Regions from separate parts of the Homo sapiens genome. Here regions 1, 2, 3, 4, 6 and 7 are each linked to region 5. The links are contacts of gene promoters, found by promoter capture Hi-C in blood cells and fetal thymus (Javierre and others, 2016). All regions are on one chromosome and are shown on one strand. The core of a region is centred on a gene start or on the middle of the fragment in contact, and the rest is flanking DNA. Distances in the headings are between cores, read along the strand shown. Region 1 has its middle 9.1 kb from the start of PBDC1. Region 2 has its middle 5.6 kb from the start of MAGEE1. Region 3 has its middle 55 kb from the start of PBDC1. Region 4 has its middle 15 kb from the start of PBDC1. Region 5 holds the start of RLIM (ring finger protein, LIM domain interacting). Region 6 has its middle 36 kb from the start of PBDC1. Region 7 has its middle 80 kb from the start of PBDC1.

Region 1 (2,806 bases), core at 251-2,750, 1.6 Mb before region 5:
GCAGCCCACGGTGGGCAAACTGAAGCAAGGTGGGGCGTTGCCTCACCTGGGAAGGGAAAGGGATGGGGAACTCCCTCCCCTAGCCAAGGGAAGCCATGAGGGACTGTGCCCTGAGGACACTCAGGCCAAGATACTATGCTTTTCACATGGTCTTCGCAACCTGCAGACCAGGAGAGTCCCTATGGTGCCTATGCTACCAGGGACCTGGTTTCAAGCACAAAACTGGAATACCTTTTGGGCAGATACCAAGCTAGCTGCAGGAATATTTTTTCAAACCCCAGTGGCACCTGGAACGCCAGTGAGACAAAACCGTTCACTCCCCTGGAAAGGAGGCTGAAGCCAGGGAGCCAAGTGGTCTAGCTCAGCAGAACCCACCCCCACGGAGCCCAGAAAGCTAAGATCCACTGGCTTGATTTCTTGCAACCAGCACAGCAGTCTGAAGTCCACTTGGGACTCTCAAGCTTGGTGGGGGGAGGGGCATCTGCCATTACTGAGGCTTCAGTAGGTGGTTTTCCCCTCACAGTGTAAACAAAGCCTCCCAGAAGTTTGAACTGGGTGGATCCCACCGAAGCTGAGCAAAGCCACTGTAACCAGACTGCCTCTCTAGATTCCTCCTCTCGGGGCAGGGCATCTCTGAGAGAAAGGCAGCAGCCCCAGTCAGGGGCTTATAGATAAAACTCCCATCTCCCTGGGACAGAGCACCTGGGGGAAGGGGCGACTGTGGGTGCAGCTTCAACAGGCTTAAACGTTCCTGCCTGCCAGCTCTGGAGAGCAGTGGATCTCCCAGCACAGCGCTGGGGCTCTGCTAAGAAACAGACTGCCTCAAGTGGGTCCCTGACCCCTGTGTGTCCTGACTGGGAGACACCTCCCAGCAGGGGTCGACGGACACTTCATACAGGAGAGCTCCGGCTGGCATCCGGCGGGGGCCCCCTGGGATGAAGCTTCTAGAAGAAGGAAGAGGCAGCAATCTATGCTGTTCTGCAGCCTCTGCTGGTGATACCCAGGCAGATAGAGTCTGGAGTGGACTTCCAGCAAACTACAGCAGACCTGCAGGAGAGGGGGCTGACTGTTAGAAGGAAAACTAAAAAACAGAAAGGGATAGCATCAACATCAACAAAAAGGACGTCTAGACAGAAACCTCATCCAAAGCTCACCAACATCAAAGAGCAAAGGTAGATAAATGCACGAAGAGGAGAAAAAAACAGCACAAAAAGGCTGAAAATTTCAAAAACCAGAATGCCTCTTCTCCTTCAAAGGACCACAACTCCTCGCCACCAAGGGAACAAAACTAGGTGGAGAATGAGTTTGACAAACTGACAGAAGTACGCTTCAGAGGGTGGGTAATAAGAAACTCCTCTGAGCTAAAGAAGCATGTTCTAACCCAGTTCAAGGAAGCTAAGAATCTTGAAAAAAGGTTAGAAGAATGGCTAACTAGAATAACCAGTTTAGGGAAGAACATAAATGACCTGATGGAGCTAAAAAACACAGCATGAGAACTTCGTGAAGCATACACAAGGATCAATAGTCAAATCGATCAAGCATAAGAAAGGCTATCAGAGAATGAAGATCAATGTAATGAAATACAGTGTGAAGACAAGATGAGAGAAAAAAGAATGAAAAGAAGTAAACAAAGCCTCCAAGAAATATGGGATTATGTGAAAAGACCAAACCTATGATTGATTGGTGTACCTGAAAGTGACGGGGAAAATGGCACCAAGTTGGAAAACATTCTTCAGGGTATTATCCAGAAGAACTTTCCCAAAATAGCAAGAGAGGTCAACAATCAAATTCAGGAAATACAGAGAACACCACTAAGATACTCCTCGAGAAGAGCAACTCCAAGACACATAATCGTCAGGTTCACCAAGGTTGAAATGAAGGAAAAAATGTGAAGGGCAGCCAGAGAGAAAGGTCGGGTTACCCACGAAGGGAAACCCATCAGATTAACACCGGATCTCTATGCAGAAATGCTACAAGCCAGAAGAGAGTGGAGGGTAATATTCAACATTCTTAAAAGAATTTTCAACCCAGAATTTCATATCCAGCCAAACTAAGCTTCATAAGCGAAGAAGAAATGAAATCTTCTACAGTCAAGCAAATGCTGAGAGATTTTGTCACCACCAGGCCTGCCTTACAAGAGCTCCTGAAGGAAGCACTAAACAAGGAAAGGATCAACCGGTACTAGTCACTGCAAAAACATACCAAATTGTAAAGACCATCAACACTATGAAGAAACTGCATCAACTAACAGGCAAAATAACCAGCTAATATCATAATGACAGAATCAAATTCACACATTAAAAATATGAACCTTAAATGTAAATGGGCTAAATGCCCCAATTAAAAGACAAAGACTGGCAAATTGGATAGAGTCAAGACCCATCAGTGTACTGTATTCAGGAGACCCATCTCACGTGCAAGGACACACATAGGCTCAAAATAAAGGGATGGAGAAATATTTACCAAGCAAATGGAAAGCAGAAGAAAGCAGGGGTTCCAATCCTAGTCTCTGATAAAACAGACTTTAAACCAACAAAGACCAAAAGAGACAAAGAAGGGTATTACATAATGGTAAAGGGATCAATGCAACAAAAAGAACTAGCTATCCTAAATAGATATGCACCCAATAAGGAGCACCCAGATTCATGAAGCAAATTCATAGAGAACTACAAAGAGACTTAGACTCCCACACAATAATAGTGGTAGACTAACAGCCCACTGTCAATATTAGAAAGATAAATGAGACAGAAAATTAACAAGGATATTCACGGCTTGAATGCAGCTCTGGAACAAGCAGACCTAGTAG
Region 2 (2,878 bases), core at 235-2,734, 1.8 Mb before region 5:
TCACTCATCAAAAAACAAAACAAAACAAAACAATCAAACCCCACATTCATCTCAAAATGACTGCTTTTCCGCTATCCACTCTACCAACAAAGGATCACAGTTGTGAATTTCCATAATCATCCTTTCTGTTCAATCTACCAATTTTTAAGGCTGTATCTCAAATTCAATTTTGGGGAAATAATTGTTTTTAATCAATTTTGATGAGTCATCATCTGAGATATGTGGATAACCTAGAGAACTTTAGCAGTTACTTAGATTAGATTAAGTGGCTACATAACTTCTTAGGCAAAAGGGGAAATCTTACAGAACCATTCATTGGCAAGATTGAATAACAATGTGAAGACAATCACCAGAGTCCCACCCATGATTTCTCTCTACATAAAGAGAAGAGACTTCTCCTGTGAAGTTTAGAAGCTTTTCCATTCCACCACAGATGAGTACAGCAATTAGTCAGTCACATTGACTGTAGCTCTTTGCAGGGTTTGACACAAGTCAATGATCATTACCTTAACGCAGAATGACAAGATCCTTTTTTAAAAAATAGTACACATTCATGTAATCATGAGAGCACGACCCTCCACTGAACACATGGAATCTTGAAACAAAAGCTTGCATCCTAATCTAACAGGTGCATTTGAACAAAGACATTTAATCAGACATTTTCTGAGACCAAAATGGTTACTTTTGAGAGAAATGCATGAAAAAAAACGTATTTTCTTCCTTGGTTGTCTTTAGTGGGATATTCTGAATGTTTGTGCATGTTGGTCAAGTTTATCTGAGAGAAAAATAGTTCGCAATATTTAAATGACAAACAACCAAGAAACTTGCTTAGGTAACATCTTCTGGCAACAATTGGATAACACACAAGTCTACTAAGAAACATGAAAAGAATAGAGAACTAATACAGAACTTAAGAAGTAAATGAAGCTCTATTATCAGAGCCTCTCTCTCAGGAAGGTTGTGCGAAGAGTAAAACGATTCAGTGATGTGGGTGTTATATCCCAGGCAGAACAATAAGAATATATGTAATCTTTACAGATTTTTTAAAAAAAATATTAGTAATGATATAAGAAGATATGTAATTCTTTTAGATTATAACAATAGTAATAGTGATAATAACAAGGAGGAGAAGGTGGGAAGAGGAAAGGGGAAAGAGATGAGGATGATGAAGAAGAGAAAGAAGAAGAAGAGGAAGAATTATTATTAAAGAGTAGGAGGGGAGGGGAAGGAAACCAATAAAAACAGCAACAACTGTAGTGGAGATTGTGATGTATCACCCAGATGCTCCTACTCTTCAGGATCACATTACTCATTCCTCCAGCTCTTGAGGGTGATGACAGCTGCTGTGTTTACAGCTGAGTACCTTTCTCAGGGATTACTCTCAGCTGAAAAGAACTGACTCTCAAAAAGTCATAGCCCCTTACCAGGAGGCAGTTTGCATCCAACGACTGGTGAGTATGGTGGGATAAAACTTTGGCCTCTTTTTCCTAATTTGGGACAACTCTGCAGGACCACACCAACTCCAGAGCTCCCTGTGGAATCAGTTAATTTATTTGCTGTGACTGAATCACTGCTCGACTTCTCTTTCTACACAATTCTGCTTCTCTTGCTCCCCACACCTGTTGAACCCAAAACAACTCCCCAGTAAAATTTCTGCAAGGAAATCACTCACAGTCTCATTCCTGGAAAAAATCAACATGCAACAATATCACTTATATATTGCTAACTACATGTCAAGTGCTCTTGTGTTTTACATGTTAACACATTTAATCCCCAACATTATGGCGTAGGTGAAATTATTATGCCCATTTTACAGATGAAAAAATGGAGGCACAAAGGAGTTAAGTAACTTGCCTGAGTTCTCATCTCTAGTATCAGAGAGAGCCAGGGTTTGTACCCAGGCACTTTGACTCTAGACTACATGCTCTTACTACTATGTTCTAATGCCTTTTAACCTTGATACCACGGAGTTTGATTTCCAAGGTGTTTTTTAAAAGATAACAGGCTTTCTGACTTCAATTTCTTTAAATTTGATTTTGTTCAGAAAATAACACCTCTTTTCATAGGTACATTAAGAAGAAATTACTATGCTAAAATTAGAGTTTCTGCCCTCCCCACCCCCTTTAGTTTTTCAATATGAGAGCCAAAAGAATCCTGTCAAAACTAAGTGGTTTCCTGCCATCGCTCAGATCAAAAGCCTTAAATAGTTTTCCATCTCACTCACAACTAAAGCCAAATTCTTATATGGTAGACTAATTTTTTATTCAAAAATATATGTTCTTCCTCTCTACTGGGCCCATTCCTATATGTTCTTCCCTGTAGAAGGAGTACACTTCCCAGCTCATTGACATCAAGCTTGCCCATGTGACTTGCTTTTGCCAATGGATTATGACTACAATATGCCATATATGAGCATAGGCTTTGAAAACTATCACATGGTTCCACTATGGCTCTTTTACTTCTGCCACAAGAACAGGTGTCCCATATATGATTTACTCCTTTAGCCTGGTTACCTGAAGGAAGACAATATAAACAGAATCACAGACAGCCCATGAAAGGGATGTAAAATGAGCCCAAAATTTTGTTGTTGTAAGCCTCTGAGATTTGGGTATTTTTTAAAAACCCACAGCATAACTTAGAGAAAGCTGGCTCATGTATCTTATTGAAACCATTGATGACACAATATATCCTGCTCTCTGGCCTTACATCTTTGACTTTTTTTCCTACCAGCACACATAAAGACTGAAATCCAGCCTTGAATCAGTTTAATTCATGATTGTATTAGGGACCCCATCTTGGCTGGGCACGGTGGCTCACGCCTGTAATCTCAGCACTTTGGGAGGCTGAGGTGGACAGATCACGAGGTCAGGAGTTTGAG
Region 3 (3,020 bases), core at 150-2,649, 1.6 Mb before region 5:
CCACTTCATATCTGAGCCCAGATTCCACATCCAAGAGTCTGTTCTCATTCACACACCATACAGCTAGGAAAACAGACATAAAAAAATAAACATGACCACAGAATAATTGATAATTTGAAGATCAGGCTGTGTCTTCATATATAGGCAGAATGATGGAGAGTATTTTTATTAGTCACTTGAAAAAAAGAGAAAAAAGGTATTAGACTGCTCACTAATACAGAAAAGGGGACAAAAGTGCCATATAACTCTATATTTTTTCTTTCTCTAGACAAAAAATAAATCAATCCGTTATATTCAGATCACCAACAAAGCTTATGCCATTGAGAGGTTACCCACACCCATCGGGGGTAAATTAATTAAGAATACACATGTGTGGCCAGGCACGGTGGCTCATATTTGTAATCCCCGCACTTTAAGAGGCCGAGGTGGGTGGACCATTTGAGGTCAGAAGTTTGAGACCAGCCTGGCCAACATGATAAAACCCAATCTCTACTAAAAAATAAAAAAATAAAAAATAGCCTGGCGTGGTGGCAGGTGCCTATAATCCCTGCTACTTGGGAGGCTGAGGCAAGATAATCACTTGAACCCAGGAAGCAGAGGTTGCAGTGAGCCAAGATCATGTCACTGCACTCCACTCCAGCCTGGTCAACAGAGCGAGACTCTGTCTCAAAAAAAAAAAAAAAAAGAAAACAAAAGAAAAGAAAAAGAATATACATGCTTTTCTCACTGGTTGGTATCAATTATCTAAAGACTTCTTTTTCTGTGACCTGGAAGACTCATAGAAGTTTGCAGAAATACTGCACAGCATGTTTTGTGTTTACAGACCCAAGCATGGTTGCTTACACTGGTTGTTGTAGAAGATTTTGCAATCAGCAGACTTTCTAGCAACAAGTAGACAGTCTAAAAATAGGTCCCCTACATGAAAAGTCACTGTGACCAAGAGAGGGCTATTATCCACCACCACCTACAACTACAGAAGAATTAAGTGCACTAGCAGCCCACTGAAGGGATTTCTTGGTGACTTTACTTGAAGGCTTTCTACAAAGGTGAGCTAGAAAATGTTACAGCATTGTACCCAGAAAAGGGCGAGTGCCTCCACTGATTTCTATAAGTGGTTTGTTGAGGCTTTTTGAAAAATCACTGGCATGGACAGAGTTGAGGACCAAAACTGCACTCTAGTCTTAGCAAACTGAGTATTGGCTATCTTGACAACTATCCAAACCCAGGTTGAGTAAAAAATGGCAGTATGACAAGGACAGACTATTGCTCAGCAGCTATTCAGTTTGGGGACAATCTAGAGAAATATAAAGAAGAAATGCAAAACTACTGTTTTAACCACTCAATTAGAACATTTTACTAACAGAAGTAATTCCTATATTTGTCAATATATAAAGGGAGAAAGGAAAGAAAACTATATGTTATTTTTAAAAAAAGAACATTTTAGGAAAATCTATAGATAAAAATACCACAGGATGAATAAATTTCAGGAATAAGAAAATCAGTAAAGCCAATAGAAGGATAAAACCCTCAGCTAAGAAAACTTTACAATTGGCTCTAAACTGATAGATTTAAAAATCTTGGAAATAAAAACTGGTGAATCATATGTCTCAATAACTTTTCCTTATGTTAATATATCTTTTTTGGATAGACACTTGTGGTACTTACTCTGCAATTTCCATGGAAATGTAGGTTAATATATCTTTTTTGGATAGACACTGGTGGTACTTACTCTGCAATTTCCATGGAAATGTCTTGTTTTCCATCTGGCAACAGATCAATAGAGGTTGCTAGTATTTCAGGTCAACATTATACTTGTTCCATTTTCTCCATGGTTCACACAAATATAAGTATATTGCTTAGGGCAGTAAAAATATTTTAACAATATTAATACTTCTGGTTCATGAACACACAGTAACTTTTCATCTATTTGTGTCATCTTCAATTTTTTTCACAAAGTTTTATAGTTTTATGTGTACAAGTCTTTCACCACCTTGGTTAAATTTATTCCAACATATTTTATGCTATTTTAAATAAGATTGTTTCATTAAATTCTTTCTTATGTATAGAAATGCTACTAATTTTTGTATGTTAATTGTGTTGCTTATAACTTTACTTAATTTATCAGCTCTAACAATGTTTTAGTGGAGTCTTTAGGATTTTCCAACTATAAGATCATGTCATCTGCAAACAATGATAATTTGACTTCATTTCAAACTTGGATGAACTTTATTTTATTCTCTTGCTTGATTGCTCTGGTTTGTATTTCTGGTATTACATTGGATAAAAGAGATGAGAAAAATCATCTTTGCCTAGTACTAAATCTGAGAATAAAAACTTTCAGATATTTCTTATTATCATGATAGAAAGGATGTTAAATTTTGTCAAATGCTTTTATGTAGAGACATCACCAAAATGGTAGAGTAGAAGCTAGCAGGCTTCTCTCCCCACTACCAGAAAATCAAAACCAAATATGCAGTGCCAAGCTTATCAACAGCAAAATTCCAGAACTCAAATATGAGGATAAAATAGATGTTGTGGTCAAGTAGAAGTGAAAAAACTTCATACAGATAGTAAGATAATTGAATATAGCTCTGATGCCCATCCTACATTCTGCCAGACACCAAGCATCCAGAAAATTTTCCCATAACTCAGTTACTATACTAGAAAAAAGTGAAATTGATGTTGACAATGAGCTTCCCTGCAATGTTGGGATCCTAAAGATTTGTTTCCACCTCAATCCACAGAAAACATTGCAAGTACCTGAAGGGAGAAAAAATCCTGAAAACAGCCAAAGAAAAATGGTGAAAGCAGGACCTGCTCTGTTTCTAGGCCAAAAGAGAGGTCAAATCAGAATGGCTGTTCAGTGCACCGTACTGTAAGAAGTGCATTCCACATGTGCCCTGGGTGCAAACCTCTAACCAGACTTCCCACACTGCTTTCATATGCCCTTTGGAGCCTTCCCCATCTGGGACCAGTAGCTGGGCCATTTACTAGAACCCAGACAAACTTGGGCATAAGGG
Region 4 (2,876 bases), core at 195-2,694, 1.5 Mb before region 5:
TGAAAAACTTCTGCGGCTAGCTCAGTGTCTGCCCAAATGGCCGCCCAGTTTTGTGCTGGAAACCCAGGGCCTTGGTGGTGTGGGCACCAGAGTGAATCTCCTGGTCTGTGGGTTGCCAAGACTGTGGGAAAAGCACAGTATCTGGGCCTAAGTGCAAAGTACAGTCCCTAATGACTTCCCTTGGCTAGGAGAGGGAGCTCCCGGACCCCTTGCGCTTCCCTGGTGAGGCAACACCCCACTCTGCTTTGGCTCACCCTCCTTGGGCTGCACCCACTGTTCAACCAGTCCCAGTGAGATGAACTGGGTACCTTAGTGGGAAATGTAAAAATCACCCACCTTCTGCATTGATCTCGCTGGGAGCTGCAGACTGGAGGTGTTCTTATTTGGCCATCTTGCCAGCCAGGGCTCCAGTGTTCCTTATTTCTTACATACGCTATATACCCCATGAAATTTGTCATTTAATCCCCCATATTTGTTGATCGCCTACTCAGAGCTATGTCCATATGTGTCTAAGACCTAGACATGTAGTGATGAAAAATGCACAGTACCCTCTTATAATGCACTCATCCTAGTGAGATATATTGTTATACTAAAACTGACCATTACCAAAAAAAAAAAAAAGACAGTAGTAATTATAATGATAGTGATTCCAAGGAATAGCACAGTGGCTGACACATATTAGAGGAGTGCCATGACTTTTTGTTGCATGAATGGATTAATGACAATACATTCAAAGCATTACTGGAAGACAAAGACATGAAAACTATCCTGTGACCATGCTGGAAGGCGCTTGACTCCTGAAGTGAATACATCTTAAGGTTAAGGTTAAAATCTCCTGACACATTAAGTTCCCATGAAAACCTTAGCAATTGCCACTTTTGATTGAATGTCTTCCATAGGTAAGGGTACAGAAATAATTATTGTTAACTGCTGAGTATGGATCACATAAGACTCAGACTGTCCCATACCAGTCTGTGTTAGTATATGAGTATGTGTGTGCACATATGTACATATGCATGTGCATGAATGCATTTAAGAAAAAGAGTGGGTCGGGTGTGGTGGTTCATGCCTGTAATCCCAGCAGTTTGGGAGGCCAGGATGGGTGGATCGCTTGAGCTCAGGAGTTCGAGACCAGCCTGGGCAACAGGGCAAAACTCCGTCTCTACTAACAATACAAAAAATTAGCTGGGCGTGGTGGTTCCAGCTACGTGGGAGGCTGAGGCGGGAGGATCACCTGAGCCTGGGAGGTGGAGGTTGCAGTGAACCAAGATCATGCCACTGCACTTCAGCCTGGGTGACAGAGTGAGACCCAATCTCAAAAAAAAAAAAAAAAAAAAAAAGAGAGAGAGAGAGAGAAAAGAAAAAGAAAAAGAGTGACACCTCTCCAACTATACCAGGGGCAGTACAAATGATCTGGAATCAGGATAGATTTAAATTCACCTCCTCCTTGGAAGTTACCAACCTTACTCTCATAGTTTCAGGGCCATGATGGTTTGTGGTTAAAGTTATGTCATCTTTTATTTCGGAGGTAACTGAGTTTTATTATCTATGTGAACTTAGGCAAGTCTCTTAAATGCAGAGTCTTGGCTTCTTCACTTTGAAAGTGAAGATTACAGACACATTTGACTTATGTGCTTATTTCAATGATGGAATTATATAAGACATGAATGTATGAGCTCTTAGCACAGGGACTAGAATACAGCAAATGCTCAGTAAATTATAGATTATTCAGAATGCCATGGACTTTCCAGACATAGCTCAGGTTTAAGCTCTAAGATTATTTTCTGCAAAGGTTATTTTGCTCCACATCTGCTAAGGGAGATACCTAGGTTGAGCATGGGGGAGAAATAGGCATATGTTAGCCCTAGTACTTGTGGGTCCAGCTGCAACTCCTTGATACTGTGGTGAGTTGGGGCTATCACACTGGATGTGCACTGACCTCAGACATGCCCATCTCTTTGCAGTGCATCATAGGCTTTCCCCAAGGGAAGTTCTGAAAGCCCCACTCAGAAAGCACAACACCAGGATGTTATAGACAAGACTTTGAACTTTAGAGGCAGGTAGCTCTGGATTTTAAAGAGGAAAATGAACTGAGCCCATGCTTTTTCTCTATATATCGTCCCTGTTTTCTCCTTCCCTTCATTGGCTTTGTTTACTCTGTCTCAATGCTTCCTTTCTTCCTTCTTTCTTGTTTTACTTTCTTATAGTCACAGAGCAATTTTTCATAGAAACATAAAACATTTTTAAATACTATTAACACTTGGTAATTCAAGCCCCATCTTTAAATTTTCTCAGCTAGAAATGTAGAAAAGTTTCTGCCTCCGTTGTGCTTTTTTTCTAACTAATCAGAACAATTTGGTCATTTAGGAATTGGACTAATTTTTCACTCAGAATTGTCTGAAACTTTTCTCACACCCATAATTCAGATCTCCTTTGTCATTCCATTCCATTCTCAGGTAAGGATATGGCACTGTATGTCAGAATATAACATCAAGCCTTCCTCTGTCTAAGCCTGGTGATAACATTGGTGGCCATCACACCCTGGCTGGGGCTACTAAGCATATTGCTGCAGAGCTCACTAGGTGAGCAGCCAGAGGAGAGATAGGAATGAGAGTAGTGATGAGCTTTTCCTGCTAACTTGGTATTTACTCTGTTCTGATTCAGACACATCTACAGGATAATTCAGGGCTCTGGACCAAGGAATAACCAGACATCTCTAAGAATGGCTCCTTGGTGCTGGTGGCACAAGAGTAACCTTTGTTTTGACCACCGGCCCACCAGTTGCACTGACCAACTGCTTTCAGATGGAGTTATTTAGGCTGTGCCAAGTGACTTGCACTGTTTCTGAACTCATAAATATAACTTGCAGCCCTCAC
Region 5 (2,791 bases), core at 259-2,758:
TACTTTCAGATTAAGTGTTTTACAAGAAAAGTAAGCAGGTAAGGAGATGGGAGAAGTCGTTATTACTTTTTTCTTTTTTTTTTTTTCCTCAGACCTTTTTCCGCCTTCAGGAAGAAGTTATTTTAGGTAGGGTGGTCAGGGAAGGCTTCTCTAGGAAGTTAATAATTGCGAGGCTTGGATGATGAAAGCAAAGATATGAAAGTAAAATATTCCAGCAAAGGTAAAGTAGTTGAAGTAGGAAGAAGTTAGCTTTGTTGGAAAAACCGTAACAAAGCCAGCATAGCTGGCATGCTATTGGAAAACAGAAAAATTGGGAAAAGGAAAAGAATCTAAAAACTTGGGTAAGGTTTTCCTTTAACTGTGACAATGGGAGTGGCATGCTGTGTGGCGAGTTCCCTCAATTCTTTCAGGCATTACTACCTAAGAAAGGCCTTCTTTAACTGCCCTTTTACAAATCCCAACGTTATCAGATTTTCCCACCCTTTTACAATCACCGCCCTTTTTCGAATACTTTAGAGTTAATGCCTCAAAGTTATCAGTCTTTTAAACATCACGAATCCGTTTGTCCCTACAAGGAACTCTTCTGTCCCCCTTCCTTGATTTTTCTCCTTGGCATTTATCACTAACATGATATGTATTTATGTTTGATTTTTTCTAAATTATTGTCCCTGGCCCCTATAAAGACTCAAGAGAACTGGGATTTTGATCTGTTTTCTTTTTTTTTTTTTTTTTTTTTTTGAGACACAGCCTTGCTCTGTCACCCAGGCTAGAGTGCAGTGGCGAGATCCCGGCTCACTGCAATCTTCGCCTCCTGGGTTCAGCTATTCTCCTGCCTCAGCCTCCCGATTAGCAGAGATTACAGGCGCCCGCCACCACGCCCGGCTAATTTTCGTATTTTTAGTAGAGACTGGGTTTCACCATGTTGGCCAGGCTGGTCTCGAACTCCTGACCTCAGGTGATCCGCCCGCTTCGGCTTCCCAAAGTGCTGGGATTACAGGCGTGAGCCACCGAACGTGGCCTGTTTTCTTTCTTAATTTTGGTCTATTTTAATTTCCTAAGCAGCTACAATGGTGCTTGACATGCAGTTGGCACTGTGTAAATACATGTTGAATAAAACGCAGGCTACTTTTTGAACTGGTCTGCACGGATTGTGTGAACTGATGTGATGTCAGGGTAGACTAATATCACATTTCTCTCTCTCTGAAAATGTCTTCAAGCAGTCAGACCGTGACGTCCTTCAGTTTTCAAAATGGGAAAGCGAAGGTTCCCACAATTCTCAGAACGCAAATTTCTCGCCACAATTCAAAATGGCGGAGGAGGGTGGGGCCTGTCACATGGTGGGCGTCATAACAGCTTTCCTTTTCCAAACCGCCGCCCGCCTTGCCGCGTCGTCTGCCGTCCCCCTCCTCCTCCCGCGGAGCCTTTTCGAGGAATCGACTGGGATTGGCTAATAGGCTGGGAGTGGGGCTGCGGTGCCGGGACGCGGCATCATCACTTCCTGTTGTGGGCAGTCGTTTCCTGTCGCTGCTTGGTAACAATGGGGAAGATAATGGCTGCCTGAGCAACGTCTCCGAGCAGGCGCTGGGCTAGAGGCGGGTCTCAACCAGCTACTCATTGGAGGCGGGCTTGAGAGCGGCGGCCAGGGAGGTGCGGAGCAGCCTCGGCGGCGGCGGCCGAACCAACCGAGTCGGATCCTGACCCTAAAACCTAGTAAGTGAAGACTTGGGAATCCTGTGAGAAATGATGTAGAGCGAGAGGAAGACAGCGGAGCCGCGGCTGCCGCGTTCTCTCAAAATGGCCCGAGTGACGCGTCGTGGCAGAGGCTCAGCGCCGCCTCCGGACCCCAGGCCCGTTGCTGCGGGGGGCTCCGTGGCGTAGTCGCCGCTGCCATTTTAGTTGAGTGGTATAGTCGACAGGCTCTTTGAAGGGGAAGGAGGTGGGTAGTACTTCCTCTCGGTGGCCGCGCGAGCTGCAGCCCAGGCCCTCCGGAGCCTTAGGAAATCGGGGGAGGCAGTTTTTGAGTTTTGGCCTCAGGCGTCAGAATCTTAGAACGTCTCAGGCTTTTTCTTCTCTGTTCTCTGGAGGCTTCCCTGACCTCCCCGCGTTTTCCATGGCGGGCTTGGGTTTGGGAAAAGGGAAGTAAAAAATCAGGCTGCCCCAAGTGAGATGCTGGCAACTCTTGGGCCTTTAGATTTCCAAAACCTCATTTTGAGCCCTTCTGCAGGGTATTACCAATTAGGCGCCCCCTGGGGCCGCGATGACATCTTCCCTGAGGATCTGAGGCAAATGTGGTTTACTCCCTTGCTCGAATAACCCTGGCATATCCTTTGCCAGGTATCACTGGAAGGATCCCCCCGCAAAAGAGAGGGAAAAGCCGTTAGGTGTTTGTTGTGTTCTCCTGGATAAGGGATGGAATTGGGCCAAATTTTCAAGTTAATTTGTGTTTAATCCACCAACAACTCAATCCCTCCCCCATTAAAAAAAAAAAAAAAAGCCTAGGGGGGTCTCTGCTTCTGCAGACGGTACCTGCCACGCATGCCATAGCTTAGTAACTAGTATTAACCGGTTGGGCTTCTGCTTCCTGAATACTCGGTCCCTTTTTCCCTTATGCTGATTAATTTCAAGATGGAGGAGACAGCCACGTTCCTTCCCTAGACAGTTTCACCATACTTATTCCACAGGTTAGTCTGGGAATCTGAGGCCTAGCAGTCTTGTTATTGAGGTCATTTTTTTTTTCATTTTGGGGCAAGAGGAAGCAGTTGTATCAGATTGTCATCTTCCATTTGCAAGA
Region 6 (3,051 bases), core at 394-2,893, 1.5 Mb before region 5:
ACTGGCTCCACTAATTGGGAACTGATTTAGGAAATGTTCATTTAATTGGAAAAACATTTTATGTACCCTGGGAAGGTCACACTTTACCCAGCCTGTTCATTTCTCTGCTCAAATCATTATCATACTGAGCAGAAGAATTTCCAGTACTATTCAGCTTTCATGAATTATAGAATGTTTGAGATGGAAGATGTTTGAGGAAACAGAGATTCAGGGAAATGAATTTGTCTGCCTAAGGTCACCCAGGGAGTTCGTGGCTGAGCATACCCTAGGACTCAGATTCCTTGAAGCCCAGGCCAGACTCTTTGGGGCCTCAAAGAAGTCAGCCCCAGATGACTCTTCTACAGCTCTTATTCAGGGCACACCTTAAGAGTGGAAACAGAAAATCCCTAAAGCTGCCAAATATTTCTGTCTTGACCTGATACCTTCCCCATACCTTGAACGCTACTGCCTGACTTCTTGAGGAGCCAAACCATGAGAGAAACTCAGAGTGCATTAATAAAGGGCTTAAGTAACCATAGGAAAACATAAGCCTGTGCCAGAAATGCTGCCACCAGGAAATTTAAATCTCTGCAGGACTTATGGTACTTGATTGGCTCCATGCTCTGTGGGCTGATGCCAAGCCCAAGAACCAAGGTAACTAATTCTTAGGGAAGTCCAAGTAGACACCAGAAGAGGAAACCAAACCCTCATGGTAAATAAAAATCATTACCAGAATATTGTTTCCTTGACACAGCCTCTGACAGCCATGAGTGGCTCTCCACATCTCTTAAACTGTGACAGGTGGCAGTAACCCAAAAAAGCTCAGACAATGGTCCCAAAAGTAGCATCCCCTTGGGTTTTCATCCATTTTCTGAGTGTGTCAAGTTCCTACTGGACTTAACTTAAATCTACAACTAGGGAAGAGAATGAGTGCCATGAGCAAGAGAACAAGTAGGAAGGGGTAAAGCAGGGAAAAGACATATGGAGGTACAGCTGAGACTAATGTCTTGAGCAAAAAATATTTGTGTTCCCTTCTAGTCCTATTCATGCTTGACCACCCTTCCAAATTCCACCCCAATGAACTTAGAGTCTCAAAAACCGCATAAAAAATTCCAGGTTCAGACACTGAAGCAAGGAAAGGGACAGCCACTTATACAAAATTATAAAGTAAACTAGCAGCAGTATCACAGAAGCCTCCTGACTTCCAGAGCAAAGATCTTTTTACAAACATCCCAGCAAGTAATTTCACTTATTCAAGCTTCCATTTCCTCATCTAGAATGAGGGAATAATAATATTACCTACCCCAAGAATCTGCTGTAATAAACTAATGCCTGGAAAACACTTAGCGAAGTCCCTGACCACTGTAAAAGCTCAATCTATATTAACCATTATTATTATATTGGGTTATCTTCTCCACTTGCCAGAATGCAATGGGCTGCCAGCTGCAACCCTATTGTCACTTCTACATCTAGCCTCCTATCTTGCACATACACTTTGAGTTTCCAACTTCTAGTTTCTTTATTGACATAGAAAGGAAGATACTATCTGTGGGAAGGAATAGAAAAAGGAAAGGTGTTTTGAACTACCTCAGATATCAGTGCTAATAAAGTTTTGAGGGAGATGGCAAATTTTCTGACTGGTATAACTTTTCTGTTGCTGAGCCAGGAATCAAAGTGTGAGAGGGATAAAGCATGTGAAATACTGAAAAGAGTTCTATTATAGTTTGGAGTCTGGCATGCCTGTGTTTGAACCTCAGATGTGCCTCTTATTACATGGCCTTAGGCAAGTCAGTCACTTCAGTTTTCCAAGACAAAGTTTCTTCACTTGTCAAATATGGCTCATAATTTCACATCCTCACAGGATCATTATGAAGAGTTCCAAGGGAGAAATGATGAAGTGTGTGTGTGTGTGTGTGTGTGTGTACACAGACAGATATACGTTCCTCCACATATAGTGAGTATTCAATAATTGGGTACTACATCACTCAATTTAGAATTTATGGGAATGTTTCATATATTCTGGCAATGGGTTCATTCTCAGTCTTACTTTTCAGAGTTACTGCAAGCTTTCCTCCTCTTCTGGATCTTCTTTTGTATATTAGTCAGAAGCCAAGAAAGGCAACATCAAGTACTGCTTATTAAAGACCATTTTAAGCTGGAAACCCATTACTAAAAATCAAAGATATGTGACTATTTTTTCACCAATTGTAATTACAAAAAAATTCACCCAAAAAATTGATAAAATACTGTTAGCAAGGCTATGGGAAATTTTGACACATTGTTGGTGACAGTATAATTTGGCACACATGTTGAAGGCAATTTAGGGCGTCTATCAACTTATGAATGCATAAGGCTCTAACAAAACAAATTAACCTCTGGAAATTTATCCCACAGACATGCCGGTATTTGTATATATTTTAAAAAAATATGTGCCAGGTTGTTTACTGAAGCATTGTTTGTAAGAGCAAAACCTTAATGTCTATCATCAGAGCAACACATTAAATAAATTATGGTACAACCATACAATGAAGCTACAAAAAATAACAAGGAAGTGTTCAATGTACTGACATGGAAAGACCAGTGAGATATATTTTAAGTGACTTAAAAAGTGTATATTGTGCCTAGTGCTGTGGCTCACTCCTGTAATCCCAGTATTTTGGGAGGCCGAGGCGGGTGGATCACCTGAGGTCGGGAGTTCAAGACCAGCCTAACCAACATGGTGAAACCCCGTCTCTACTAAAAAAAGAAATACAAAATTAGCCAGGCATAGTGGCGCATGCCTGTAATCCCAGCTAATCGGGAGGCTGAGGGAGGCGAATCACTTGAACCCGGGAGGCAGAGATTGCGGTGAGCCGAGATCGCTCCGCTGCACTGCAGCCTGGGCAACAAGAGGGAAACTCCATCTTAAAAAAAAAAAAAAAAAAAAGAAAGAAAGAAAAGAAAAGAAACAAAAAGTGTATATTGTATGCTACAAATTATATGAAAAAGTGGGTGGGGGCTATCTCCTTATGTAAACACACACAAAGTTTACAGAAGAAATGAATAAAAATAGTTAACTGTGTGGGTGGAGAA
Region 7 (2,939 bases), core at 120-2,619, 1.6 Mb before region 5:
ACAACTACTAAGACAAGAGGTTAAATACCCAGAGGGTATGAAGTGTCCAACTATCCAAGTCACAACTACTAAGACAAGAGGTCCAATGCCTGGGGATAATCCTGACCTGTGGAGATCCTAAATTCTCCCCAGAATGAATATAGGTCATCCTTAAAATACCTACCCCAACCACCCAAAAGCTACTTCAGGCCTTTCTGGGAATCACAGGATATTGCAGACTTTGGATACCGGGGTATGATAGAATTGTTAAGTCCTTAATCAGACTTAAAAAAAATGACTAATAGAAACTCGCTTTTCTGGGGAAAATATCAGGAGCAAGCTTTTAGGCAGCTAAAAACTGCCCTCTCACAAGTTCTAGCCCTTGGACCACCCATACTAACCAAACCATTTCAGCTTTTTGTTACTGAAAGACAAGTTGTAGCCTTAGGAGTCCTAATTCAAACCATAGGGCTAATCAAATCTCCAGTAGGTACCTTTTCAACGAACCTAGACCCAGTTGCATGAGGGTGACCACACTGCCTCAAGATAGTGAGTGCAGCAGGGCTCCTATACTAGGAGGCCCTCAAAATCACCATGGGACAGTTAATCCAGATCCTGCCATCACACCATACAGGCCCCTTATTGAACATAAAAGGGCCACAATGGTTCACTGACAACAAACTGTTGAAGTACCAGGGCCTGTTACTAGAAAACCCACAGGTAACAGTTTAGCGGTACTCCATCCTCAACTCAGCCAACCTTACTTCCACTACCAGGAAACAATAACCTGGCACATTTATGCTGTGAAATACTTAACCAAATTTATGCCAGCTTGGAGGACTTAGAGGATCAGCTTCTGGACAATCCAAACAAAATATGATTTTCAGATGGGAGTAGTTTTATCTGGAATAGAGCTAGACATGCAGGGTACTTTATAGTGTCCCTTTCCCAAGTCATAGAGATAAAAGCTCTGTCCCGTGGGGACCTCAGCACAACTAGTGGAACTCATCACGTTGACAAGGGCAGTACAGATCCCAAATCTTAGATCTACTAGATGCTGTTCACTTGACCCAGGAGGTGGCAGTAGTACCCTGTGAGAGACACCAGAGGGGCTCCAATGAAACTGCACAAGAAAATAGGATGACCAACCCCAAACTAAAGAGGCAGCTGTCTCAAAGGATACTTACCTGGGGCCTTACTCCCATTGCTCCCCACTGAATTATCCCCTCTCCAATACACTCAGGAAGAAATAAATTGAACCACCCAACGTAGGTATCAAAAAGAAACCAATAAATGGTACAAACTTGGGGAACTTCTCCATCTACCAAGGGCCTCCCAAGGGTAGAAGGTCATCACGAGTTCACACAACTCCTGCCACGTTGAAAAGGACAATCTACGGCAAATATGTAAATTAATGTTTAGTAGTGTATTATTCCATTCTTGCATTGCTGTGAAGAAATGCCTGAGACTGGGTAATTTATAAAGAAAAGAGGTTTAATTGTCTCATACTTCTACAGGCTGTACAAAAAGGCTAGCTACCTTTCACAAGAACACCACCAAGAGGATGATGCTAAACAATTCATGAAGGATCCACCCCCATAATTCAACAACCTCCCACCAGGCCTCATCTGCAACAATTTGACATGATATTTGGTTAAGACACAGATCCAAACTATATCAAGTAGATAGGAAGAGAATAAACAAAACTATTCAACATGTTTGTCAACCTTTCAACTTGTGCATCATAAGTAATCCCCAAAGAGGGAAGCCCCCAAGTCCAACCCAAAGGACAGGTACATACCCTGGGGAGGACTGGCAGTTGCACTATACTCAGCTCACCACATGCTGCGGGCATAAGTACTTCTTGGTCTGTGTAGACACCTTCACAGGATGGGTACAGGCCTATCCCACAAGGACTGAAAAGACACAAGAGGCAGCTAATTCCTCCTAAGGGAACTCATTCCCCAATTCAGGCTTCCTAGGTCACCGCAAATAGACGATGGTCCATCCTTAATTTCCCAAACGAATCAGCAGGTCAGTTCTGCCTAGGCATAAAAGGGTACCTTCACTTTGCCTGGAGACCACCATCTTCAGGGAACCTGAAAAGAACTAGCTAAACCCTCAAACACATCCTCAATAAACTCTGTCAGGAAACAGTACAGACATGGGTGGACCTCTTACCTTTAGTTCTCCTTCAGATTTGTGTTGCCTCTCAGACCCCTTTGCAATTAAGCCCCTTCAAGGCCTTATATGTTAGGCCATTCCTGTATTCTGACTTACTGCTAGATGAAGAAACTGCTAAAATCAACCAGTATGTCTCTTTTCTAGCAGACCTCCATCAAGCCCTCCAGGAATATGGGTTAAAAACAAACACAAAATTAGAAGAGAAAAAATCTCCACCTCTATATCCTCCAAACTCACTGGTTCTCCTCAAAGCTTGGAAGAATAGAACCCCAAATTCCCAACTAACTCCAGTCAAAGAGAGACCCTTTACTGTTGCATTTTCTATTTCTACCCTCACGGCCATTAAAGTAACAGAGATTAGCAGCTGGATACACTACACCTGAGTGAAGTATTGGAAAGGCCCTTAAACACTGGAACTGAATCCAACGACTTCAACTCCAGAATACATTGTGAACAATTGAAGGATCTGAAATTCCTCTTTAGATGGAAAGATAACCAATGCCTCCGCAGATCCTTTCACCTCAAAGTAATATAATTCCAATATTAGGAATACTGTTTGCAATAGCATCACTTATTCACCTTATTTTAACCCTAACCTGTATGCCCCCCCAAAGTCCCAAGAGAAACTACTTTGTTGCTAATTTTTCTTCACCTTAACTTACTTTCGGGCAATTCCCTTTACAACTTGATTTGTTACTAATTTCTCTTTTTCACAATCTCATTATGGCACCATGGGCCCACTCCTGCTAATTCTCATTTTCACCTCTTTACTAGCA

What was found. Contacts are between HindIII fragments. The CHiCAGO score rates a contact against its expected background, and 5 or more counts as called.
Region 1: a contact is called between a fragment that was not itself captured here and the fragment with the promoter of RLIM in region 5, in 1 of 17 cell types (M0 macrophages). The highest score is 5.3, in M0 macrophages.
Region 2: a contact is called between a fragment that was not itself captured here and the fragment with the promoter of RLIM in region 5, in 3 of 17 cell types (total CD4 T cells, total B cells and non-activated CD4 T cells). The highest score is 5.8, in total CD4 T cells.
Region 3: a fragment that was not itself captured here is called in contact with the fragment with the promoter of RLIM in region 5 in 1 of 17 cell types (total CD4 T cells); the score reaches 5.0 in total CD4 T cells.
Region 4: a fragment that was not itself captured here is called in contact with the fragment with the promoter of RLIM in region 5 in 7 of 17 cell types (fetal thymus, total CD4 T cells, naive CD8 T cells and 4 more); the score reaches 8.6 in fetal thymus.
Region 6: a contact is called between a fragment that was not itself captured here and the fragment with the promoter of RLIM in region 5, in 10 of 17 cell types (fetal thymus, M0 macrophages, total B cells and 7 more). The highest score is 15.2, in fetal thymus.
Region 7: a fragment that was not itself captured here is called in contact with the fragment with the promoter of RLIM in region 5 in 4 of 17 cell types (total B cells, naive CD8 T cells, non-activated CD4 T cells and 1 more); the score reaches 10.7 in total B cells.

The regions. Positions count from the first base shown.
Region 1 is chrX:76,180,793-76,183,598 of GRCh38, reverse strand. No RefSeq gene overlaps it. Among named protein-coding and RNA genes, the nearest start is that of PBDC1, 9.1 kb to the right of the region's middle. The HindIII fragment of the contact is 1,114 bases long and covers 944-2,057 here.
Region 2 is chrX:76,431,863-76,434,740 of GRCh38, reverse strand. No RefSeq gene overlaps it. Among named protein-coding and RNA genes, the nearest start is that of MAGEE1, 5.6 kb to the right of the region's middle. The HindIII fragment of the contact is 1,747 bases long and covers 611-2,357 here.
Region 3 is chrX:76,226,575-76,229,594 of GRCh38, reverse strand. No RefSeq gene overlaps it. Among named protein-coding and RNA genes, the nearest start is that of PBDC1, 55 kb to the right of the region's middle. The HindIII fragment of the contact is 2,172 bases long and covers 314-2,485 here.
Region 4 is chrX:76,156,551-76,159,426 of GRCh38, reverse strand. No RefSeq gene overlaps it. Among named protein-coding and RNA genes, the nearest start is that of PBDC1, 15 kb to the left of the region's middle. The HindIII fragment of the contact is 4,234 bases long and covers 1-2,876 here.
Region 5 is chrX:74,613,341-74,616,131 of GRCh38, reverse strand. It overlaps RLIM (ring finger protein, LIM domain interacting), which reads left to right and starts at 1,508. Exons shown (of 4, transcript NM_016120.4): 1 at 1,508-1,710. RefSeq lists an enhancer at 1,584-1,903. The HindIII fragment of the contact is 9,843 bases long and covers 1-2,791 here.
Region 6 is chrX:76,135,748-76,138,798 of GRCh38, reverse strand. No RefSeq gene overlaps it. Among named protein-coding and RNA genes, the nearest start is that of PBDC1, 36 kb to the left of the region's middle. The HindIII fragment of the contact is 808 bases long and covers 1,240-2,047 here.
Region 7 is chrX:76,251,752-76,254,690 of GRCh38, reverse strand. It overlaps the pseudogene LOC100533728. Among named protein-coding and RNA genes, the nearest start is that of PBDC1, 80 kb to the right of the region's middle. The HindIII fragment of the contact is 2,096 bases long and covers 322-2,417 here.